6 separate regions of the Homo sapiens genome follow, and regions 1, 2, 4, 5 and 6 are each linked to region 3. The links are contacts of gene promoters, found by promoter capture Hi-C in blood cells and fetal thymus (Javierre and others, 2016). All regions are on one chromosome and are shown on one strand. Each heading gives the region's core, a stretch centred on a gene start or on the middle of the fragment in contact. The rest is flanking DNA. Distances are from core to core; before and after follow the strand shown. Region 1 has its middle 21 kb from the start of CALCRL-AS1. Region 2 overlaps CALCRL-AS1 (CALCRL and TFPI antisense RNA 1). Region 3 holds the start of CALCRL (calcitonin receptor like receptor). Region 4 overlaps CALCRL-AS1 (CALCRL and TFPI antisense RNA 1). Region 5 has its middle 4.0 kb from the start of CALCRL-AS1. Region 6 overlaps CALCRL-AS1 (CALCRL and TFPI antisense RNA 1).

Region 1 (4,418 bases), core at 1,327-3,826, 470 kb before region 3:
TTCCCTACTGAAGGCAGGGAATGCCACCACCTCCCACCTGCAGTCCCTGACCCTGTGCAGTTTACACAGTGTCCCTTCATTCGTAAGTTGTCACGTGAAGAAAGAAGTCAGTAGCAAAGTGACCCTCTTATGGAGTTATGAAATGGGGTTGCTATGGGGAACAATGATCTGCAGGGGACCCTGGGGGCTGGCATGGCCTTAACACTAAGCAAGTGAGAAGGCAGCCATCCTTTGACAGCTACTGTTTGTCCAGCATGAAGGTAAGTTAGTCCCAGTGACTCCAGTAGACCACGATGGTGATAATGTAAGAGGGGCACTAACTTGACATAAAGGCCTTATATGTGCTGCACTAAGAGCTTCACAGATACATACTCACCTGCCTGGTCTCACCCAGCATGACTTATCACGGTTTCATCAACCTAGATTTACCCATCTGCCTTATTAACATCCTGGCCATAATCATCCGGTATTACTTTCCAAGCCTTATGCACCAGGTTGAACACTTGGTAACCTGGACTTACCCTACTGGCATTAGCCTCATGTCCTTACCAACCTGATTACCCAACTAACAGGCTTAACCAGTTGGCCTTCACAATTATACTCAACCTTCAGGTCTTGCTTACCTGTCCTAGCCCCACTGGCCTTTACCTAGTGTCATTAGTCACTGGATATTCCCCTGGCCTTACTCTTCTGGTCTTCACCTATTGGCCTTTCCCACCTGGTCTTACCCACCTGGCCTTACTCACTAGGACTTAACTACTTGTCCTTTATTAAACTTACAGGCTTACTTACCTGCCGTATTCACCTTCGCAGCCTCAACTAGCATGACTTAATCTGCTGGCCTCATATCCATCTGAGTTTAATCATCTAGCTTTATTCAGCTATCCTTCACCTTCTAGCTTTCCTCTCACTGTCTCACCCACCCAATATTAGCCTCCTGTCATTATTTAGCTGGCGTAGTGACTAGGTTTTAATGCTCCTGGCTGTTTCTCCTTGATTGACTGGCCTGGTGTTACTCAAATAGTTTTTTATTCAGCTGGATTTACACACCTGGTTTAACAACCTTTCCTTACTCAGTAGACTTATTAACCTCACTGCCTCAATCACCTTATTTTCCTGGTGTTGTTAGACAAGCTTAATCCATGTGGCCCTATATCAAACTCCTGGCCTTACTGACACAGGCTTCATTGCCTAACCTAAAAGTCTCGGCCTTACCCACCTCGCCATAATTTCCCGCCGTCATTCACCTATTCTCACCCACTTGGCTAACTTTGTTGGTCTTAATCTGCCATCAAGATGCACCTGATCTTACCCACGAGCCCTTACTCCTCTGTCCTTATACCCTGGGCTTAACGCCCTCTCTGGTGAGACCCCAGGAGCCTCCCTCACTGGGCTTAACCTTATGGGCTTTAACCTCATAGCCTTAACAAATTGGATTAACTGCCTGGTTTTCCCACCTAGTCTTACCAAACGTGGCCTTCACACTTGGTGTATACAGCTGTCCTTAACCCCTGGTTAACCATATTATTAACCTTATAGCCATACTCACCTGCCCTCTTCAGCTGCCTGGCCCCAGCCAGCATGACTTAATCTGCTGGCTTTATACCCTACTGGTGTTTACCACCTGGTTTATTCAGCTGGCCTTTACATCCTTACCTTCCCCACAGTCTTACCCACCTAACAGTTTCCTCTAGTCATCATATGACTGGCTTGGCAACTTGCTCTTAACCCTACCAGGTGTTTCCCCTGTTGATTTCACAGACTGGGTTACTGAAATAGTCCTTAATTGAGCTGTATTTAGACACCTGGTTTTAACAACCAGGCCGAACTCAGCCAACCTTAATCTGATTGCGTTCATCACCTTATTTTATCCTCATTGTATGACGAACTTGACGTTATCCATCTGGCCTTATTAACTTCCTGGCCCTACTTGCCCAGTGTTCATGACTTTGCCTAAAAATCCTGGCCTTACCCGCCTGGCCATAACTTCCTGCCATTGTCCACGTGTTCTTACTCACCTGGTTTTAATTCGCTGGCCTCAATCTCCTGTCAAGACCCAGCTGATTTTACTCACTAAGGTTTACCCACGTGGCTTATGAAGCTCCTGCCATTGCTCCCCTGCCCTTTCTTTCTGGCCTTATCCACATCATTTTATGGCCCTGGCCAGACCCGATTAGACTTCCCTACCTGGCCTAACCCTATGGGTCTTAACCTCAAGGCCTTGATAACCTGGATTAGCTACCTAGTTTTCCCACCTAGTCTTACTGATTATACATGATGAACATGGCCTCCACCTTGGTTTTTGCAACTGTCCCTAGCCTTCTGGTTTTATCTAACAGGAATTAAGCCCCTGGATTTATCTCTCTAGGTTTTCTCCTTTGGTTTTATCATCAACATTCCCTTTTTCCCTAGTTTTACCACCAACTCCTTGCTCCAGCTGCAGCCACAGTGCCCTATTTAGACATTTTACATTGCCCACCTGGCTTTAAACTCATTACCTTCCCAATCTAGATGACCAACTTAGCTTAGTAAGCTGGCATTCGCACCTGACCTTAACCTTTCATTCTAAGTCATGTGGCCTTAACATCCTGACCCTGTTTACCTAGTATTAACCTCTATTAACCTCTTCACATTACCCAGGTGGAGTTAGCCACCTAGCTCTATTTAGGAAGGCCTTAACTTACTGGCCTAAGCCACCCAGACTATTCAATCACTTGGCTTCCTAAATTGGTTGTAACTTCACGTTTTTGCCAACTTACATTTACCCACCTGCCTTATGAAACTCTTGGCCTTACTCATCTAGTATAAATCTTCTGTCCTTAACCTTCTAGTTGTATCTACGAAGGCTTAACCCATTGGATTTACCTCCCTAGGTTCACTCCCCTAAACTTATCACCCTTTACTTATTCCTGAGATTCCTGGACATAGACACCTTGCATTACTCATCTGGATTTACCCACCTGGCCTTAACCTCATGGCCTTACCATCCAGGATTACCAACTTAGCTTACCTCCCTGGCCTTCCTGCCTGGCCTTAACGTTCCATTCTAACTTACATGGCCTTAACCTTCTGGCCTAATGTGCCTAAACTCTTTGCTTTACCCACTTAAACTCAGCCACCTAGTTGTATTCAGGGAGATCTTAACTTGCTGGTCTTACCCATCTGGCTTTTTAAATAGTTTGGCTTCCTGACCCGGCCTTAACCTCATGGTTTTGCCAACTTAGATTTACCCACCTGCCTTATGAACCTCCTGGCCTTACTCATTCAATATTAATCCCCTGGCCTTGTGAATCTGACTTACCCACTTGGCCTTACCCTACGGGCCTTAACATCATGTCCTTACCAACCAGAATTACCCAGCTGATTTTACCTACCCAGCCTTACCCTGTTGTCCTTCACAATTAGTCTCAATTTTCTTGTCTTATTTAGCTGTCCCACCCCTACTGGCCTTAACCTAGTGTCATTATCAGCTTTCCCAGCCCCTGGCTTTACTTTCCTGGCCTTTACCTATTGGCCTTCCCACATGACTGTATTTTCTTGTCCTTACCCACTTGGCCTTGTGCAAGTACTGGCTTCACCCAATAGGCCTTCTGCAACCAACATTATTAACCCGACAGCCATACTCACCTGCTGTATTCACCTGCCTGGCCTCAGCTGGCATAACATGATTTAATCTGTTGGGCTCATACCCATCTGGTGTTGACTACCTCGTTTTATTCAGCAGACCTTCACTTCCTCACCTTCCCCGCACTGTCTTGCCCACCTAGTATTAGTTTCCTTTCATCATTTAGCTGGCTTGGCAACTTGGCATTTAACCTACTGGGAATGTCTCCATTGATTTACTGGCCCGGGGCTACCCAAATAGCCTTTTATTCAGCTAAATATAAATGCGTGGTTTTAACAACCTGGCCTTACTCACCAGATGTTATTAACCTCGTTTTCTTAATTACTTTACCCTCATGGCATTATTAAACAAACTTCATTCATGTGGCTCTATGAAATTCCTGCCCTTACTGACCTAAGCTTAATTTCTTGTCCTTACTAAATGTCTTGGCCTTATCTACCTGACATAACTTCTCGCCATTATCCTCTTGTTCTTACCCAGCTGGCTTTAATTTCCTGGCCTCAATCTGCTGTCAAAACCTACCAGCTCTTGCCCATGGTGCCTTACTGCCCTTTCTCTACTCCCTGGCCTTACCCATCACATTTTATTTATTTATTTTTTGAGGAGGAGTCTCCCTCTGTCACCAGGCTGGAGTGCAGTGGCGCAGTCTCGGCTCACTGCAACCTCCAACTCCCTGGTTTAAGCAATTCTCCTGCCTCAGCCTCCCGAGGGGCTGGGATTACAGGCCTGTGCCACCACGCCTAGCTAATTTTTGCATTTTTAGTAGAGACGAGGTTTCACCATGTTGGCCAGG
Region 2 (4,198 bases), core at 198-2,697, 300 kb before region 3:
TATATTATTTTAAATGCCCAGTTTTCAAAAAAATTATGAGACATGCAAATAAGAAACAATGGCCTCTACACAAGAATAAAGAAGTAGTAAATACAAACTATTTTTGAGGAAGCTGTGTTAGACTTACTAGTTAAATATTTTAAATTAACTATTTTTAATATGTTCAAAAACTAAGGGAATCCATGTCTAAGAATTGAAGGAAAATGTGTAAGCAATGTCTCCTCAAATTTAGAATACTAATAAACACTAGAGTTGAAAAGTACAATAATTGAAATGAATTCACGAGAGGTACTGAAGCAGATTTGAGTTGTCAGAAAGAGTCAGCAAACTTGAATATTGGTCCATTGAGATCATCCACCTTGAGGAACAAACAGAAAAGAAATGAATAAAAATTAAGCAAGCCTTAGAGACTTATGTGACACCATAAAATGTACAAACATATGCACAATGTAAATTCTAGAAGGAGCAGAGGTGGGGAAAAAGAGGCAAAATAATATTTCAAGAAATAATCATTAAAAACTTTCAAAATTTTATAAAAAACAGCAACCTACACAGCCAGGAAAGCCCATGAACTCCAAGTAGAATATACTAAAAGATATTCAGATCTAGGCATATAATAATCAAACTATAGAAAGAGAAAGAGAACTTTGAAAGCAGCAAGAGAGCAGCAACTCATCAACATGAGAATCCTAAATTGGATTTAACAGCTGATTTCTCATCAGAATCCATGGAGGTAATAAGGCACTGATGTGACACATTTAAAGTAAATTTTTAATGATTGTCAACCAAGAATTCTAAGTCCATTGAAACCGTTATTCAAAAGTGAAGGAAAAAGTAAGAAATTTACAGATTAAAACTGAGAGAATTCACCCTGCAATACTAGAAGACACCCTAAAATAATTTCTTAGAAAACTCTTAACTAAAAGGGAGTCCTTCACATTTCAAGGAAAGGACACTAAAAAGTAAATTGAATTCACATGAGAAAATAAAGAGCATCAGTAAAGGTAACTATAAGGGAAACATAAAGTACAATATGTGTGTTTTGTTTGTAACTCTTTAAAATCTCCTATCTAGTTTAAAAGACAAATTCATAAAGCAATAATTATAAACTTGTGTTGATGGATATATACATAAATTTATATGACAGAAACACAAAGGAACAGGAAATAAATGGAGACATATAGAACCAAAGTTTTTGTATATTACTGAAGTTAAGTTGGTATTAATTCAAACTAGAGGGTTATTGGTTAAAATATTAATTGTAATCCCAGGGAAACCACAAAAAGCTCAAAAAATGTATAAAAAATGACAAGATAGGTTAGAAAATATTTAATATAAAATAAAGCATTAGTGGAGGATAGAGAAACAAAAAATAAAAAAGCCACAGAAAACAAATAGTAAAATAGCCGATGTAAATCTTGTCAATAAGTATATTAAGTATAAATAGATTAATTATTCCATCTAAAGGCAGAAATTGGCATAACAGATTAAAAAAACATGATCTAACTATATATCCTCTATAGGAGATTTACTTTAGATTCAAAGACTCAAATAGATTATATGTAAAAGGATAGAAAAATATACTCCAAGCAAATAGTAAACAAAGAAGAGCTTGAGTGGCTATATTAATCTAAGATAAAATAGACTTTAGACACAATTATTGTAAGAGATAAGGATGTTGATAATGATAGAAGGCTCAATCCACCAAGAACATACAGCAATAAAAACATATATCAACCAAAAAACAGTGCCTTATGATAGCAACCTTAAGAGAACTGGAATAACTAACTATATCAGAAAAATTGACTTTAAACAAGAAATGTTATTATAGAGAAGAGCAGATATTTCATAATGATAAAAAGCTCAATCTATCAAGAATGAGCAAGAATTTACATATATGGCTCTAACAACAACTCTAATATACATGCAGCAAAATACTACACAACTGAATGGAGAAATAGACAATTCAGCTATAATAGTTATACACTTCAGTATTCCATTTATAATAATGGATAGAACAAATAGACAAGGGATGAACAATTAAATACAATACTGGAATAACACCATAGACCAACTAGACCTAACAGACGTCTGTAGAATGCCCAACAACCACAGAATATACATCTGTCTAAAGTGTACATGGAACATTCTCTAGTATAGACCATATGTTTAGCCATAAAACAAATATAAAAAATATAAAATGATTGAAATAACACAAAGCACATTACCTGAATAGAAGGGAATAAAATTAGAAACCAATAATGGAAAGGATTTGGGAAATTTATAAATACGTAAAAATTAACTTTGAGGTGAATATAAAAGATAATAAAACATACCAAAACTTACAGGACACAGCTAAAGTAGTGCTTAGAGAAAAATTTATACCTGAAAATGCCTTTCCTAAAAAAGAGAAAAAGATCTTAAATCTATAACCTAAGCAGCCACCTTAATAAATTAAAAAAGTGACCATAAACTAAACCCTCCAAAAGTAGACAAAAGTAAGAATTAGTAGTGGAAATAAATAAGATAGAAATATTTTACAAGTAGCAAAAAGAAATGAAACCAGAATTTGGTTCCTTAAAAAGATCACCAAAATTGACAAATTTCTAGCTAGATTTACCAAGAAACAAATAGAAAATACTTAAATTACTAAAATCAGTAATGAAAGAGAGGAGTTATTACAGAAATAAAAAGAATTATGAGAGAATACTATGAACCATTGTATGATAATGCTTTAGATAACTTAGATGAAGTGGAAAATTCCTAGAAAGAAACTACAAAAACTGACTCAAGAAAAGATAGTAATTCTAAATAGTCCTACAAGAATTAAACTGACCCACCTACCCCCTTTCCCCGCCCAAACAAAACCATCACAGATGGCTTAACTGATCAGTTCTACCAAATTTTAACCAAGATTTAATATCCATCCTTCATAAACTCTTATGAAAAATAGGAGAAGAGAATATTTCCGAACTTGTTTTATGAGATCAATATTACTCTGATACTTAAACCAGACAAAGACACCATGAGAAAACTATGGACAAATATCCTCTGTGAATATAGATTAAAAAGTCTTCAACAAAATACTAGCAAACCAAATCTGGCAACATGTACATTGTATTACACAATATGAAAAAAGTGGGATTTATTTCAGAAGCAAAAGATTGATTCACACATGAAAATCAATCAGTGTAATTCACCATATTAATAGAATAATTAATGAAAGCTGCGTGCTTATTTAATATATGCAGAAAAGGTATTTAACAGAATCCAATATCCTTTCATAATAAGAACACTCAACAGCCTAGGATCTCCAATGAGGTAAGAGCATCTACACAAAACCCACAGCTAACAGCATGCTTAATGGTAAAAGATTGAAGATTTCTCCTTAAGATCAGGAACAAGACAAGGATGTACACTCTGACGCGTTGTATTCAACACTATACTTAAGGTTCTACCCAAGGCAATTAGATAAGAAAATAATGTCATCCAGATTGAAAAGGAAGAAGTAAAATTATTTCTGTATGAAGATAACATGATTCTAAAAGCCTAAGAAATCCACCAAAAGTGATTAGAACTAATAAGTGAGTTTAGCAAGCTTTTCCAGATACAAGGTCAATATACAGATTGTATGCTTATGATTTTTTAAGTAAAAGTTTTGTTATAGTAAAAGTGGTAGATCTAAATTCACAAAGTTATAAATGTTATAGATTTGTAAAGAAATTGTGAGGAATCCATATGTTTGCATACTGTGGAATCATTAAAAATAAGTAGAATCTGTATGCTTACTGAGATACAAAAATTATCAGATTACTGATATTAAGTATAAACATGTGGTAGATTAATTGCACTTATAGCCCCATTTCTTTTCTTTCTGCATTTAATCAATTGTGATGTTCCTTTGCAAAGGGACCCCACCCTTTGTAATTTACCTTGGTGAGAGAATTAGGCAGAAGTGTTAGTGTGCCAGTTCTTAGTCTTTAGGTAATTTTGCATAATTCCACTTGCTCCCTCTTGCATGTCTGTGATTGCAACCTGAAGAGCATGCTCAGATTAGCTCACACTGGTCTCAATTCACCTCAGCTGAATTCAACCTAGATCCAAAGACTCTAAACCCCAAGAAGAATAAGCACGCTAAGAGGAGGTTGGCAGAGCTGTTCATCCCTGAGCAGCTGAACCCTGAGATGCTCAAGAAATA
Region 3 (4,150 bases), core at 177-2,676:
AAATTGAGTTGTAAATTACTGAGGAGTTACTCAGGATGTTTGTAGTCTATTATTAATGTGCCAGATATAAGTGATTAAGTACAGGATGCTTCCAATGCAGGACATCTTGGAAAGTATAATTGCATTTAGGTAAGAAAATATATAACTTAAAAATCATATCTATCAACATCATTTAAAATTTGACATCAAACTTTCTCCAGCAACAAATTTGTGATATATCTACACAAACAATTTATTAAGCAGACATTAGTTTCTTAAATTGTTCAGGACAGTCTGTACTATCGGAATGAGCATTAACAGATGTTTTATCCAACATTTCAGTAAGTTCCATCCTGGAAATTCTTTTTTAATAAATACTTTAATTTCTTTGTTTAATCGTCTAATATACTTCTTTGGGAAAGCTGTCACGTTTCTTTATCCACAGATATCGTGGTATCACACCCCCCTCCAAAAGCTTGCAGAGGGGAACCAGTCAAGTTGAAGTATTCTCTTAAAGATTTCAAAATTAAGAATTGTTTTAAAAATCTACATTTCCTAAACTCTAGGTTTTTTTTTTTCTTTGTAGCCGACACCATGATCCAAATAAAGAGCAAACAGTTCAGGGTTAGCAGAAGAGAGATTTAAACACATCTGGCAACAATGAACACAAAAATTAGTTCAGTAGTTACAGATATATGTGTAAATAAAGGTGAAAGGCAAATAAAAGCAAATGTAATAAATACAAAGTGATTACTTTTCAAAACTCTGCATTATGATCAACCACAGAGTAAGTGAGACTCCGAGACCCATTAAGTAGTTATTCTTTCACCTCTTTCTTACAGCTGATAACATGGAAAGTTTAAAGACCCTTCCGGGGGGAGAAATGTTTTCCAGTTGTCAAGATTCAAGCTTAGCTAATATTAGAGCTAATTTTAAAAGACATTGTTCTGTGATTAAGGTATTTGTTCAGAAATATGTCTTTTAATCCATTTAGATTTTTAATACTTGCTAAATTTATTTTCTAGAATACCATGGTAAACAATATTATCTAGTAGTATTAGATTTTGTATTCATGTTGGGGTAGTAGGCTGTATTTTCTCTAGCATGTGAAATAAGTGAGACTATGTTTCAACATTATTTCAGTGCTATCTACTAAATTCTATAATAGAAACATTGCCAAACTATATGAGAATACTACTTAGAATAAATATATTTATTTTGAATGTGCACTTACCCAGTCCAGCTCTTAAGGAAATTCTTTGTGAAATATTCTCAGGATGGAACTTTACTTTCTGAGATTCCGCAGAAGAGATTTACCCACAAGCAAGGTGGGAAAGAGTGAAAGCTTTGCAATGTGATCCTGCAATTAGGATGAGATTCAGTTAGCAGAGCTTGATGGTCCTAAAGCAGGAGGTGACACTCTCTGCTGGAGAGAGAGAGGTTGTTCTGAGTAGATTGTAAGTGTTGTCAGATTGTAAGTGATCAGCAGCAGAAGGGAAACATCAGAGCTTCCTGTTACATCACTCTGACCCCGCCTGCAGTTAGTGTTAGGTTACTTTCTTTCTCAAATAGCATACCCCAGGAAAGCAGCACTCCTTTCTTATTGTGAGACAAGAGCAAGAAGCAGCCTGAACAGAGAGAGATCATAGGCTGTGTGAATACATTGTTACCAGTAAAAAGCTGGCTGGCTTTCACCTTGACTGAGTTCTGTTAGAACTTGCCAAACAAGCTACTTGTGATTTGAAGGAAATCTGAATATAGTATTCTGCTCAAAGAATCAAAGGAGTTAGGCGTGTGTGTGTGTGTGTGTGTGTGTGTGTGTGTGTGTGTGTTGAATTATAGCTTACAAAGTATCCAGGAAAAAAAATCTAACAAATCTGTGTTCATAGCACAACACAGAAAAAAAAATTAACTGTATTCATCATAACTGGTTTTGTGATTTGGCTCTTCTTAATTTGGAGCTCTGCTAATTGGGTGCTGTTCCTCCATCAGTTCCTAAGTGCAGTTCCTAATCAGTTAATTAGATCAAGAAACTTTATCCTGCAGTTTTTAAATCTTTTATTTTTTCCTTTACCTTCTTCATAAGAACATGAGTGTATGTGTTATAAATTCAGGTTGTGTATGTGTGTGTATAGAGTGTTTCTTTTATAATATATAAGTATATATATTTGACAAAATAGCCTTTTGAATAATTCATAATTTTAAAATTATTGCACACATTTAAAAATATTTGGTATAATTATGTTATTTATAATATAAAATAATTTATACCACAATATTTGTAAGTCAATATAATCTTAAAGAAAATATAGATGTTGTAAACATAATATTATAAAATAATATAAATACAAAGGATACTTTATTTCTTAGACAAAATTTCATCTCAAAGCATAGTTTTTCCTGAATATGTTTAATACATCATTGGATATGATCAGGGGAAAATGTAAATTTAAAATGCTTTTATCATTTTTATAATTTGGTAAATGTTCGATATGAAGCAATAATTATAATCCCTATAACCTAAACAGCACTAAAAGTCACTTAATTTATCAGGGCATAAATTTTCTCATCTATAAACTAGAAGAGATAGATTTTATGTCTAAGGCTTTGAATCGACAAATTTCATAACATTTTGAAATAGATAAGATACGGTGAGGATCATTCAACTCTTAGTAAATTGTTAGTGCAATTCCAGGATAAAATGAGGTGCCATACACCTTGTAGGCAGACAAAGGAGGTAAAGGCAAAATAAATTCAGGAATATCATGTTTTTAAAGCAGGGTGCTCATGTTGACATTTTTATTGTCTGAATTAGTGGAAGAAAATGTTTATACAATCTTTGATTTTAAGACCAGTGAGATCAATATTGATTACAAAATACAGACATATAAAAAATAGATATACTTTCATCTCTATAATTATGGTTAATAGAAAAGACTTGTAAGAAACTGAGTTACACTGGTGAACCGGTTCTGATACTGTCTGGTGTGATCTTGACAAAGCTTTTTAGGCTTCATGTTCCCATCTTGAAATTCAGAGAAAAACAAATACTAGATTTAATATGAAAGTAATAATGGGTCATGTCTTCTCATCTTCCATGCTAAGTGTAATATATGAATCCTATAAAGAGATTAATATATAGTTTTTGAATTTAATTAAATCATGGAAAACTAAAACTTTTCCCAATATGTTTATAAAAGCATTGATATTTTCGTCTTTCCAAAGATTCATTTTTCTTTCTTTCCTTCCTTCCTTCCTTCCTTCTTTCTTTCTTGATGGAGTTTTTGCTCTTGTTGCACAGGCTGGAGTGCAATGACGCAATCTCAGCTCACTGCAACCTCCACCTCCCGGGTTCAAGCAATTCTCCTGCCTCAACCTCCCAAGTAGCTGGGATTACAGGCGCCCGCCACCACACCCAGCTAACATTTTGTATTTTTTTGTAGAGACAGGGTTTCACTATGTTGGCCAGACTGGTCTGAAACTCCTGACCTAAGGTGACCCGCCCACCTTGGTCTCCCAAAGTGCTGGGATTACAGACATGAGCCCCTGCGCCTGGTGAGATTCATTGATTTCATTTGCCCAATACTAGTAAGGTCTACTGAAGGAAAAAAATTCATGTTTTGAGCTCATGTCATAAGACCCTTAATCCAATGCTCTTTCTCTTCTACTCTCTATCAAGTGCTATACTTTATGGGGTGTCTAGTAGAAGTTGTATCATTTATATTTAAGTTGACGTACACATGGGCCCATGGCTGTAGTCCATGAAGACTCCTTGATAAATTTTATTAATATCATCTTTAATTCTTATTTAGACATAACAGGAAAATTGCATCCTAGTAATCCTCAAGAGCTGCCATTTTATAAACTTCAGAAAAAATAAATGGTACAAGGACTTCCAGGAAGGCATTCAGGGTATTCTAAGTTATGTAGGAGCAAGTGATAAGATAGATCATAAAAACTTCTCTAATACCTACTGAAACATGAAGGCAAATGTTTGGAAAACTGTAGCAGAGCTAAATGAAAACATTTCAATAATCAATGAAGCAATTTTGAGCCAACGTGGCATTATATGGATTTATATATTATAATCTTTCTTCAGAAGACATTAAAGCCACTTGCAATAATTTAATTAGTAGTGACCAAATTTGTATTTTGAGCTAGGTAATGTGCT
Region 4 (4,267 bases), core at 209-2,708, 320 kb before region 3:
TCTTCTCTCTGTTCTTCCTCCTTTGTCTAATTTTCCTTCCTAAATCAGAAGTTTTGGGGATATTGTGGTCTATAGCCACACTTTACATCTACACATTGTCAAATTTGATATATTTGTATGTTTTCTAATAAGCCCTTTGAAAACTGCAGCACATTCAATTTCTACTTGCTCAGTCTCTGAAATCTAGTCATTTTAACTCTAGATAGCACTGTTTTTAAATATAGAAAATAAAAAATATACTCTTCTTTAAATGTCCTATAAAACTATTTTCATGTATATTTCTGTCATCCTTATTTCTCTGGTGACATATGCAGTTTCTTTTTATTGTTTACTTTTTCTTTAAAATGAGAGATGAAATAACATTATTTCAAGGAGCTGAAAAGTCAGTCTAAAATTATTTAGTGAATTTCATCTGTGGAAACATTTTTCTTTTGGTCATTTTGTATTTCCAGTGAACTACATTTTAGATTTCACAAATTAGAGATGAAAATGTGCATCAGAGCCTTTATTTAAAGCAATATACTAATCAGGAGAACAATTTATTTTTAAATATAACTATTTCTCAGAATCACTGGTTTATATTGAGAGCTTATCTGGAGGTTCTAGCACAGTAGCACAACTACCAGTACACCCTGGATGATGAACAGTCCTCCTCTATCTGGGAAGGTTGCTCTCTTTGACTAAGCTCTCAGCTTCAGAAGGGATGCACATGGAACAGTAAGGTTGAAAGGGGCACCTGCCTAGCCAGACAGATCAGCCCAAACAACCCTGGTGATCAATGGAGCGATGTTGCAGCCAGATGACCTTCACTAGTTTATTTTGAAATATTCATCTGCATCACTAGATTTTTTTCAAAGAAATTTAACTACATGTTAACATATACAATACAATTCGTGTACCAGTATGAAAATACATTATTGTAGTAAGTTCTACATTTTCATGAAGAAAAGAAAATTAAACATATCTTAATTGTACAAATAGTTTAAGCCAATATTGACTTTAGAATACTAGAATTAGTCAAAATATAGGTCTTTTAAATTACTTCAGTACTAAGTTTCTTACTAGGCTTGAAAGACACCCTATTCTCATTAGTGATATATTTACTTACCAAATACTAGGGTGGATGCCTGCAGTATATCACTTATATATGCATTTTATGTTGTTTTTTATTTCAAGTTTAGAGTAAAATTTTTGACATCACATTCTGAGATTACATTTTCTCCTGAGCTAATAGCACCCTACATGTTGGATATAGATGAAATGTTAAAATCCAATTCTGATTCCCCTCATTAAGTGAATTAACAAGAGTTATATTATTGCTGTGTAACAGAACCAGAATTTACACGAAGGAATCCCCAATTTTCAGTTTAGGGTTATATTTCCCATAACTTATGATGTCTATATTTTAAGTAAACTTTTTTTCTAACAAAAAAGACTGATGTGACTCAGTTTATAGTGTGTATCCAATCTGTCACATGCAAATGATGTTGAAATTCCTGGAAAACAAGAATGAAGTGATGGAAGATCATCACTTGATATTGCTTATCTCTTTAGTTCTGTCTTAAAATATCTTTTGAAACCAGTATTTTTTTCTTCATTTCTTTCAATAGCCAACACAAACTTTGTTAAGAGAGATAAGAAAAAAGGAAAAATTAGAAAAAATATTATTCCAGGGTGTCTTAGGGCTGTTAAAAACTACTGAAAAGGATTTACATTTTCAAAGAATCAGGGATGTAGTCTCCTTCCTCATAATTATGCAGAAGAATACACAAACGGTAGTTAAAATGTTAAATGATCTAGGAATAATACAGCCAATGAGGTCTATGGTATAATATTGTTATCAAAAATATGGAAAATAGTATTTCTAAAGAAGAATATGGAATTCATTTTCTGGGAGTAGAAACTATGCATGACCTCAGTCTTCAAGAACTGTAAGTTTTGCAAAGTTTGTCAACTTCAGGATAAAATACAAATTCCTTAACTTAGTGAACGAGATTTTGTGACTTGCCACTGCCCACATCTTCAGCTTTGTTTCTGCTATCTTCCCACATTTTCTGTGCACTTTTATCACTCCTGGGTATAGGTACTTTCCTAAACTTTCTTTTCTCTCTATTTTTGGCAAATGGTAGTATCTTAGTTTTCCCCCAGCTCAGTTTTCAAGACTCAGCTTAGGTGAAGTGTCACTGTGTAATTGTAAAATTCTCTGTAACCCACCATCCAATCGTTTTCAAAGGATTTTTTACCTGTGTTCAAAACTTAGTGAGCAAACACATTTTTAATACCTATCTCTTTATTATTAATGCATCTAGTGCATAATTTCTGGTCATAAAATATTTATTCAATAAATAAATGATGTTAGAGTTAAGAAATAGAAATGAATACAAACAAAGCATATTTGCCTCAGTTAGGGGTTATTTGCCTAATCCAGCAGATCAGATCTTGCCTCCCTTCTATGAGCATATCTTGTACTTTTTCTCTAAAAATTTCTGCAAGAAAAAACAGGACTGTGAAATGCTTTTTGCTTTCACACATTATTCATAAAAGAATGACATTTTAATTTTTACAAATTGAGATGTCTTTTGTCACACCCAGTGATATCAGCCAGGCTCACCTCTGATGTCAGTGAGTTTACTATAGTTCATTTCTACATGGACGGGTCAGCCTCTAGTGCAAAAGACTCGAGCAGGGCAGGCGTTTTGGCTACACAGAGATGTAACAGGATCACAGGGCTTCACATCAGTTAACATAATCTGTATTCCCAGTAGTGAATTCCAACTGGCCTCAGTAAAATTGGAATTTGCTTATAATTAAACAAGGAAGGAGACTGAAAACCCAGACACAAGTTTACAATGGACTAACTCCCATTGTTAATTATCAGAGCTATCAGACTTTCGAATTGTAGTTTTTATTAAAATGATGTCATGCAAACACACACACACGTACTATGCATATATCTATCACGGATTTTTTTCTTTCTAGTCAATCATTCTATTGATAAAGCCATTTTTTCATAGTTAACTTTAGCTAAAAAACACATGATCACAAAACAAAACATGGTCTCTATTTTTATTGGATACAGCGTCTTCATTTCCAGGGGTAAATTGCTTACATTTGTATTTTTAACACTCATACATCAGAAATGTTTAATTAAAATAACCCACAGGTGAGGAATTTTAGTCTGGTTTTATTTTTCTTCATACTATTGTCAATGCTCTCTTACCTGTGGATTTCACAGTTTGCCTTCCAGGAAGTCTTCAGGATTGTGTGATTAGAAGAGGGGAAGGGGAGAAAAGCTTGCAAGGCAACTTCAAGAGCTAGGAATCACTTCACAGAGATATAAAATAAAAGGGTGGTCATTTTTATCTTTTTCCATTTACCCTAGCTATGTTTTGTTTTTAACTGATGAGTTTTTTCCATTTAGAAAGAGACCTAATACTCAAGCTTGATTTTCATTTTTTGCCTTGGCCCAAAGAACCTGAAATAAGGCCCAGAATGACTTTGCTTACTTTAATGTTACCATTCTCATCTTAAAGATTTTTATTTAGAAGTGTCTAGGAACAGTTTAGTTACATTTCTCATGAAGTTAAAGGAAAACTTACTGCAAAGGCTCAACTATGAAGCAATTTATTACTTTTTAGTTCTGAGAAAAATCTTTTTTGTCCAAGGGTGAGATTAATTTAATTCTAAATTTGAACATCAAATTCCATGGCTAAGGAAGTACATATAATGGGCACATTTTAGAAGAATCTTTATGTTAGATTCTAAATTCTAATTCTGTGATTCTGTCAATTTCCACTTGCAATGTACCATCATGTCACATGAAGGAAGCCACTAAGGTCTAAATCTTAAGGCATAATTTTCAGAAAAGAGAGATTGTAATATAAATCTGAAGAAAGATGAATTTGAGTTGGGTTATTTGGTTTTTCTTTTTCCTTTTCACTTGAGTTATGCTTAAACAATAGCAAATAACATTTTTTCCTAATCTTTTTTTTTGTAGGGAGAATGTGTAGAAACAGTGATGGTCAAGACTAGAAAGAAGGAATTTGTAGAGGAAAAATAATATCAATGTTGTAACCTCATAGAAAGTATCTCCTAATTTGTTGTTTTTCAGTTTCTCCCTCTTCATTCCAGTGTAGGTTACTCTAAGTAATCATTCTAGTTTCATTTGCTAGAATCATGATGGTGATATGTGAGTTGCATTATATTTTACAGGAAATTGAATGTTCCACAGTATTTTATAAGGTATATGGATATTGATATGTATTTA
Region 5 (4,252 bases), core at 896-3,395, 450 kb before region 3:
TGTTATAACAGAGTAGAAATAAAATTTAAAAATATTCAGAAAATTTAGAATTGAAAATAGTAATTAGTATTATTATTCACAGAATCTAAAGGAAACATCAAATTATGCACTTTGAAAAAGAAGGAGAGGGAACAATGAATAGGATGCAAAATTAAAGAAATTGATTAAAGTGTGGATTAACATCTCTGCAAAGAAATGAATTAACCTGTAGATGAATCTAAATAAACAACGAATGTCAGAAGCAATAATAAAAATAATGGTGATGACTAATTTTGAGCGCTTTAAAAAAAAGATGGAGCTCAACTTGAATGAAAAAAATCAGAGATAAATGACTAGAGTTAAAGCTCAACTTGCATGAAAAAATCAGAGATGAATGACTGGAGTTAAAGCTTTCTCAAATCGGATTTTCTGGAGGGAGCTAGTGATAGTGATTAAATTTTCACTCTGTTAGGTCAAGAATGCATGTAACATATTTAAGGATAAACTCTATAGAAGAGCAATAGAATTTAAAACAAACACAAACTAATAAAAGATTCAGTTTTAATAAAGGAAAGAGCAATAAGTAAATTTAAAAAAGGTATTCCAAGCACTTGGGAGTTGAAAAAACAAGTAAATAAAAACCAGGAGACATAAAATAAAATACAAAATGAGGTATTAAAAACATAAATGCTAATGATAAATTTACCTCTTAAAAGATAGGTAATTTCAAATTAAATTTTTAAAATCCAGTTGTGACCAGGTACAGTGACCCATGCCTGTAATCTCAGCAGTTTGGGCGGCCAAGGCAGGAAGACTGCTTAACCCAGGAGTTTGAGACCAGCCTGGGCAATATAGTGAGACCTCATCTCTACAAAAAGATATAAAAATTAGCCAAGTGTGGTGGCGCATGCCTGTAGTCCTAGCTATTCAGGATGCTGAGGTGGGAGCATTTCTTGAGCCCAGAAGGTGGAGGTTGCAGTGAGCCGTGATTATGCCACTGTATTCCAGTCCAGGTGACAGAATGAGACCTGTTTTTTTTTTTTTTAAATCTAGTTACATGCCGTTTATGAGAAATACACCTACACATGATCATAATGAAAAGATGAAAATAGTGAAATGTGAAAACATATGCGGGCAAAGATGAACCCAACAACTATTTTGCAATATTAATGAAAGGCAAAATAGGCCTTGAAACAAAAAGGACTTTAAGGAAAAGTGATGGTCTAATTCATTAAAAAATACAGCAATCCTGAATACCTATATGTTAAAAGCAAATAATATCCTGAAAAAATGCATAAAGTGAAAATCAATAGTATTAAAGTTGAAATGGACAAATTATCAATTGTAGTGGGAGATTTTGACATAATTTTCATAAAATGACAGGCTGCATATATAGAACACTACAAACAATAAGTAGGTGAAGCAAATTGTTTTCAAACACCCACAAAGTATTTTAAAAATTTATTTAAAAAGTTTATGTACCATAAATTTGCTCTTTTTTCATGTAGAGTTCTTGCAATTTTCTTTTGCCTTTTCTAGAAAATAATATACATGGAATTACTCTGTATATTAACTTTGGAAAAAGGTTTATTTCTCTTAGAATAATAGAGTTAAGATTCATTCATTTCTTGCATGCATCAATACTTTATTCCTTCTTATTGCTGTATAGTATTTCATTATATGAATGCATCACATTTATTTATCTAGTCCCCAAGTGAGGGACATTTGTGTTGTTTCCAGTTTCTGATGAAACTAACACATTTGTTTTAAAATTACCATATTTGTGTGAATGTGGGTTTTTATCACACTTAGGTAAATGCTAAAATGTAGGGTTATTGAGCTATATGCTAAGTGTATGTTTGACTTTATAAGGCATTGTTTTCTAGAGTGGCTGTGCCATTTTGCATTCTCTTCAGCTATGTATGAGAGTTTCTGTTGGTTTGCATCTCTGCTAGCACTTGGCATTGTCAGTTTTTTTGTGTGTTTTCTTTTATAGGCATTCTAATAAATAAGTAATTGTAATTTTCATTTAAATAAAGTAAAAGATAATTTTATATTATCTTTTAAATATATTACTGGATTCAGATTTTTGAGGATCTTTTTTGTTTATGTTCATGAGAAATAGTGCATTGTAGTTTACTTTTCTTGTAATATTTTTTGTTGATTTTGGTATCAAGGTAATCTTGGTTTCATAAAATGAGTTGGGAAATATATACCCCTCAGCCTCAGCTTCCTTTTCTGGAAGAAATTATGTGAAATTAGTATTATTTCTTTGTTAAATATTTAGTAAAATTTACCATCTGGGATTAGAGTTTTTATTTTTGGAAGTTTTTAAATAAAATATTTAATTTTCTACTAGATGAAGACATAGACAATTTACTATTTAGTGAGTTTTGGTTATTTTACATTTTTCAAGGAAGTGGTCTATCACATTTAAGCTGTTTAAATCATGGGCATAGAGTTGTTGGTACTATTAGTCTTTTAATATCTGTGGAGTCTGTGGGAGTACATGTCTTTCATTCCTTACATAGTTAATTTTTGTTTTCATTTATTTCAAAATATTTTTCAAGTTCCCACTCTACTACTTGTTTGACTCATGGTTTATTTAATTTTCAAATATTTAGGTGCTTTACAGATTTTTTTCTGTTACTCGTGTTTGGAAAATATAATGTATAATATATACAAAATATAATTTGATTTTTTCTGAATTTGTTGAGGTGTTTTATGGTCTATGTTGGTGAATGTTCCATGTGCACTAGAGGAGAATATGCATTCTTCTACTAGTGGGCAAGAGTGTTCTACAAATGTCAATTAGGTCAAGTTGGTTGATAGTGTTGTTCATGCCTTCTGTGTCCTTACTGATTTTCTATCTACTTGCTCTCTCATGTCCATTACATTTACATACATTGGAACCTTTCTAGAAATGTTATAAAATTTGATTTCAAAAGTCATATATATTTTTATAAACTGAGAGGAGAAAAACATTAAATTATATTTATTCAGATACCCAAGCATTTCTTTTGCTTTATCCTCATTCTTAAGGTTACAAGTTTCCCTTTGTTATAATTTCCCTTAAGTCTTGTTTGGGTTTAAACTATTTTTCTGAACTTCTTGAATTTTTTCTGTAAATTTATATTTTTCACTGAACTTGGAGGAAGTTTTTCATCCACTATATCTTCAAATATTTTTCTTCACCAATCAGTTTTTCCCTTTACTTCATAGATGCCAATGACACCACTACTAGATTTTTTGAATCTTGTTATTATATTATCTACAGGCCCTAGAGGCTCTGGCCATTTTCATTTTCAATCTTTTCTCTCTGTTATTTAGACTAGATAATTTTTATTGATCAATTTTTAAGTTTACTGACTTTTTCCTCTGTCATCTCTATTCCTTATTGAACCTGTCTAGGAAATTTTAAAATTTCAAGTGTTGTGTTGTATTTTTTACTTTTTAAATGTCCAGTTTTTCCCTTTTCTTTTTCCAGTAGTTTCTATTGCTCTGTTAAGAACGTCTTTATTTCCATTAATTTCAAGAGCGTTCACCTTTGCCTCATGGAGCATGGTTATCATAGCTACAATAAAGTCTTTTTTCCAACATCTGGATCATCTTAGATTTGACATTTGTTGATTGTTGTTTCAGTGGAAAACAGGTCCAATTTTTTTTTTATTATTTGTATGTTGAGCAATTTTGCATTGCATCTTCAAAGTTTTGAGTAATGTGTTGTGAGAGTCTGCATCTTGTTAAAATCTTCTGAAGTTTTTTTGTTTACTAATAAATCCAGTTGGGTTCAGACCATGAGTTCTATCTTGCCTTCCACTGGTGCTAGTTCGAATGTCAGTTCAGGGTTTAAAGTCTTTATTGTTATCTGAAACAGTCAGGGATTAGTATAAGACTTTGGAGCTGATTCACAGACAATTCTTAAAGCTTTTGCTATGCTGCTTTGGATGTGTTCCATTCAGGCAGAGTTTGGGGGTACACCAGGGAATTTTCTTCTTCACTTCTTATTTATTTATTTATTTTTTATTTTTATTATTTCTTTTGGAGGTGTTGAGACCTGCTTGATTTATTCCGATTATTTAATACACAATTATACAATTGTGATCCCAAACTGTGCAAAGTGAGCCTTCAACTGCAGCTGAGGAGAGGGCAGGAATGATATACCTGGGGACGGTGGTGAGTCAGGAATGACGGGAAGGTGGCCATGATCAGGGAAGCCTCCTTCCCAGGGCCAGGGACAGGGGAGTGGCCTGAGGAGCAGGACCCAAGGGTA
Region 6 (4,357 bases), core at 749-3,248, 280 kb before region 3:
CAGGCGAGCGCCACTTTTACGCCCAGCTAATTTTTTTTTTTTTTTTGTATTTTTAATAGAGACAGGGTTTCACTATTTTGGTCAGGCTGGTCTCAAACTCCTGACCTCATGATTCGCCTGCCTTGGCCTCCCAAAGTGTCAGGATTACAGGCGTGAGCCACTGCTACCAGCCTTCTTTGTCCTTAATGTCAGACTCATTGGCTTAATTTCTCTGTGGCCGCTAAGGAATATGCATTTTGGTGTGTTAACCAAAAACTCTTATTGTGTAACTTGGAAACTTCCAGTTTAAAATCTTTTTTGCTAAAATTCTCTCTTATAAAATATTACTTGGACTATACAATTTTCACTTTTATTATCATTTGTCTGCTATAGCTTTCCTCCACACCGATTTTCTATGTAGTATTTCTTTTAAGTGTGTGTCTGATAGAGGGTGTAAAAGGATTATTTTTTTTCCTAATTCAATCCAAGAATATCTGTTTTAGTGGATGATATAATCCAGTTACATTTGTTGTAATTACTAAATTTTATTTTCCAATTTGTTTGTGTTTTCTTTTAACCAGGCATTTCTTTGTCATCTTTGTCCTTTCGTACCTTCTATTTGCTCACTTTGTTTTTGTATTTTATTTTCAGTCATTTTAACCATTATATGCAAATAACTTCTTATATTTGAATTTATTCTGCTAGTTTGTACTGCTTCTTGAAGTAGTTAGCAGTTTTTTAAAATTTGAAGCCATTTCTTATTCAAATATTTCCTTATCCCATTCTTCATCTTCTCTTCCTTATGAAATCCAAGTACCCGTTGGTTGACTCTTTCACCATGACTCGTATATCTTTACACATTTTTCTTTATATTCCATTCTTTGTGCTTCAGATTGGATTTATTTTCTGAGATACTGTCCAGTTTACTGCTTCTCTCTTCAGATTTGTCTAATCTTTTATATTAGACATTACTGAGTTCTTAATTTCAGATATTCTTCAATTCTAGAATTACCATTTGATTCTTTCATATAGTTTCTAGTTCTTGGCTGAAATTGTTTGTTTTGTCATTTAATGCTTATGCATATTAACCTCCATTATTTTAAAATTATTACTCCAAATTCCAATATATGGATCTCCAGTGGATCTATTAGCTGATTTTTCTCTTCATTTTATTTTCAGTTAATTCTTTCCTTTTATTTACATTTATTTATTTATTTTTCCTGCTGCCTGTTTTTTATTGAGTATTATTGTATGTAAAAAATGTTAGATGTGATTTTATGTTTTTAGATCACATTATCTTTCTCCATAGAGGATTTTTCTTTTGACTCTGGTAGGTAGTTAAGTTGTAGCTGGTGCAAATTAATCCAATTATACTTTTAACTGATTCAAAGTTGGTCTTCAGTCTGCGAGTGTTAGTTTATTTCCAGCTCATATTTATTTCTAGGGTGTATCCTTTGGAGATACAAACTAAATATTCAGGGTCTATAGTAGAACCCCTCTTTCTTGGATGGTTCTGAGATTCAATTTTTGTCTTAAGCATTGAGAGACTGCCAAAAATGTTTTCTTTCCCCAGCTTCTTAGCCTCTCAGCTGTGCTTTCTGTTTTCCTCTTACCTTCTCTAGAGATATTGCTCTAGAATGTAACAATGCCTCTATGGGAACATTTAATCCTCCTTATCTCAACCTCAAAACTTCTGCTGTCCATTAATCCTCTAAGACATTCTCTGCTTTTTGAGAGGGGGAAGAGCAAGGAATTTCAACCACTGTTCCCTCATTATCCTGGACCACATACAACCTTCAAGCTCCATCTATCCTTATGTTTCTCTAAGCTTTTCTATTCTGCTGGTCAGGAATCACGGTGTAAATGGTAGCTGTTTATCAGACTGCTATTTTGGAGTAATTTAGGATGCTAGGCTACAGTTTTCTCATGCTCTAGATCTTCCAATCCTGTGAGATAAAGACCTATGCATAAGGGTTTCTGTTTTCCCAGTTAATTCCCAGAGCTTAGCCTGGAGCTTAGGTCATTGAGCCTCTTTCTCAGATACTGACCAGGGCCTAAAATCCAGTCATCTTCTTTCTAATTTCCCCTTCTTTGCTTTCTTTTTCAAATCTTACCAATTAGAGACAGGAAACAACTCTTCTCTACTTACTTATTGTTTCCACTTTATGGATTACAAGTCTGAACATGCTTTCACTCTTCATATTTAAAATCAAGCTTTTGAAATAACTAAAAATATACAAACAACTGTTTTCACTCTCAAACAACTGCTCTTTTAATTTGAACCCAGAGTTCTCAAAATTATAGTCTTTACTATAGTTTTATAAAAGTCAACTTAAATATAAGTAATTTGACTTTTACTTTTTATCTTAAAGTAAGATAAAAGGCAGCATACATAAATCCTTGTTGAAGTTTGGATGATTAGAAGAGTTAAGATTAAGAGTAATCTTCCACTAAATAGAGTGCTAACTCTGTAGTGTCCTGAGACAAATGATATAGCTATAGTGACAATAATAATGTCAGTCATTTATTGGGCGCATGCTGTGTTTCTTAAATGCCCACAATGTTTTGTGAATCTGTATGATTTCCTCAATAACTTTGTGAATTTATGATAATTACAAGTGAAAAAACTAAATGCTTTTAGAGGACAAGTAACTTGCCCAACTCACTAGTAAGTGGTAGCTGTGGAATTTAAGCCAAGGTCTGTCTGACTTCAAAGCTGTTTGTGTTTGTTCTCTATACGATGCATAAATTTTTAGCTATTAATAATTATAATTTACTTTATTCCTATCAATATAATAGTGGTAGTATGGAGTATCACCTGGGAAAAACAACTCAGTTTATGAAATACTGATATTCAGGTGAAATTTTATGTTATACTTGAGAAAGTGTTTTATAAGCTGTTGTAATATTTTATTTTTTCTATGTATACCTACTTTATTTTCTAGATTGTAAGTTTCTGGAGATAGGAATTTTCTTTTCTCTTTTATGTCTCTTAATATATTTATTATACTAAATCCCAAACAAATTTTTGATCATTATTGATTTCTGCTTTTTTCTAAAAAAATTAGATTATGTTTGTTAATTAATTACTTTGTAGTTGTATTATTCTATAGACTATTTTGGTGTTTGATGTTTTTTAAATTACACTTTTCATTTAACAAATGCAAACCTAAAGTTGCAATATAATTACAAGGGATTCCATATACCCTTCATTTAGATTCATTTGTTGTTAACATTTTGCCACATTCACTTTATGTCGCTCAAGACATATTGATGTGGACATTCTCATTATTATTTTCTTTTTGTTCTGGCGTAATCCATGTGAGAGTAAGCTGCGAGAGATCATGACCTTCACTCCAAACACTTCAGTGTGCATGTCTAAGAAGAAGCGCATTTTTTTGTATAATCACAGTACAATTATCAAATTCAGAAATGTTACTTTCATAGAAACTGATTATCTAATACCTTATTTATATCCAAATTTCAACTTTTTTGTCCAAATTACTGTCTTTTATAGCAACATTATTTCCTGATTCAGGATCATGGATTGCATTCGTCATGTTTTTTAAATTGCCTTTATTTTGAAATAGTTCTTCAGAATTTTACTGATTTTTATGACATTGACAGTTTTGAAGAGGCCCCTTCATTGTGTGGTTGTATCTGACTCCTTGCACCAGAAAATATATTGTCCAGGTACTTAGCGATAACTAATGTTCCTTTAAAAGGAATATAAGGGCTTTTAGAAAATATAGCTGCAGGTTAAATATAACTGCAGATAACACTAAGAGTTAAAGGGAATAATGTCAGACAACAAGGGAAAAGTTTACAAAGCTTTTTTTTTTTTCTTCACAATTTTACCCAGAACCAGCTCTGATAGTTACCATGGTCATAAGTTGAAATGAGAGTACCATTTTTTTCCTATTCTTACTGCAGACCAGGGTAATGAGATTTACCTCTGAACAATGAATGATCAAAGAGGCTTTTACCTACTGTTCCTTCAGGAAGCAAGTTTATCTCATGGTAAGCTAGTAGAGTATAGAAATCTAAATATCAAACTATAAATTCTGGAACTCAATTTGAATGTCAGAGTGGTAAGGGAAGAACACTGGGCTCAGACAGACCGAGAGATAATAACAATAATAGTATAGCAATAACAGCTATTTTTGAGCAATAAATATTTATGATCACTGTGCTAGCATTACCTTGTATCCTTAGAATAACTCAAGGTAGGTTTCATAACACCTGATTATAAGGCAGGGAACAGGTTTAGAGAGATTAAGTCAATTATCCAGCATCACAGCATCAGTCATTCAGGTAGTAAGGAAGAGAATCAGGATTATGTCATTATGTCATAGGCCTGTCTTAGCCCTAAAGAGTA

Evidence for each region. Contacts are between HindIII fragments. The CHiCAGO score rates a contact against its expected background, and 5 or more counts as called.
Region 1: a contact is called between a fragment that was not itself captured here and the fragment with the promoter of CALCRL in region 3, in 2 of 17 cell types (endothelial precursors and megakaryocytes). The highest score is 7.4, in endothelial precursors.
Region 2: a contact is called between a fragment that was not itself captured here and the fragment with the promoter of CALCRL in region 3, in 6 of 17 cell types (M2 macrophages, megakaryocytes, M0 macrophages and 3 more). The highest score is 16.1, in M2 macrophages.
Region 4: a contact is called between a fragment that was not itself captured here and the fragment with the promoter of CALCRL in region 3, in 3 of 17 cell types (megakaryocytes, M2 macrophages and endothelial precursors). The highest score is 8.9, in megakaryocytes.
Region 5: a contact is called between a fragment that was not itself captured here and the fragment with the promoter of CALCRL in region 3, in 1 of 17 cell types (endothelial precursors). The highest score is 5.3, in endothelial precursors.
Region 6: a contact is called between a fragment that was not itself captured here and the fragment with the promoter of CALCRL in region 3, in 3 of 17 cell types (M2 macrophages, megakaryocytes and M0 macrophages). The highest score is 10.2, in M2 macrophages.

What each region holds. Positions count from the first base shown.
Region 1 is chr2:186,979,627-186,984,044 of GRCh38, forward strand. No RefSeq gene overlaps it. Among named protein-coding and RNA genes, the nearest start is that of CALCRL-AS1, 21 kb to the right of the region's middle. The HindIII fragment of the contact is 2,889 bases long and covers 1,133-4,021 here.
Region 2 is chr2:187,144,209-187,148,406 of GRCh38, forward strand. All of the region lies in intron 1 of CALCRL-AS1 (CALCRL and TFPI antisense RNA 1), which reads left to right. LOC124906106 (a long non-coding RNA gene) reads right to left here. Exons shown (of 3, transcript XR_007087543.1): 2 at 3,933-4,035; 3 at 283-358. Among named protein-coding and RNA genes, the nearest start is that of CALCRL-AS1, 140 kb to the left of the region's middle. The HindIII fragment of the contact is 4,297 bases long and covers 1-3,596 here.
Region 3 is chr2:187,446,826-187,450,975 of GRCh38, forward strand. It overlaps CALCRL (calcitonin receptor like receptor), which reads right to left and starts at 1,427. Exons shown (of 15, transcript NM_005795.6): 1 at 1,214-1,427. The region is part of intron 2 of CALCRL-AS1 (CALCRL and TFPI antisense RNA 1); the gene reads left to right. The HindIII fragment of the contact is 1,657 bases long and covers 1,323-2,979 here.
Region 4 is chr2:187,122,052-187,126,318 of GRCh38, forward strand. The region is part of intron 1 of CALCRL-AS1 (CALCRL and TFPI antisense RNA 1); the gene reads left to right. It also overlaps the pseudogene RN7SKP42. Among named protein-coding and RNA genes, the nearest start is that of CALCRL-AS1, 120 kb to the left of the region's middle. The HindIII fragment of the contact is 3,665 bases long and covers 1-3,291 here.
Region 5 is chr2:186,997,118-187,001,369 of GRCh38, forward strand. It overlaps the pseudogene IMPDH1P7. Among named protein-coding and RNA genes, the nearest start is that of CALCRL-AS1, 4.0 kb to the right of the region's middle. The HindIII fragment of the contact is 3,517 bases long and covers 388-3,904 here.
Region 6 is chr2:187,164,431-187,168,787 of GRCh38, forward strand. All of the region lies in intron 1 of CALCRL-AS1 (CALCRL and TFPI antisense RNA 1), which reads left to right. Among named protein-coding and RNA genes, the nearest start is that of CALCRL-AS1, 160 kb to the left of the region's middle. The HindIII fragment of the contact is 386 bases long and covers 1,806-2,191 here.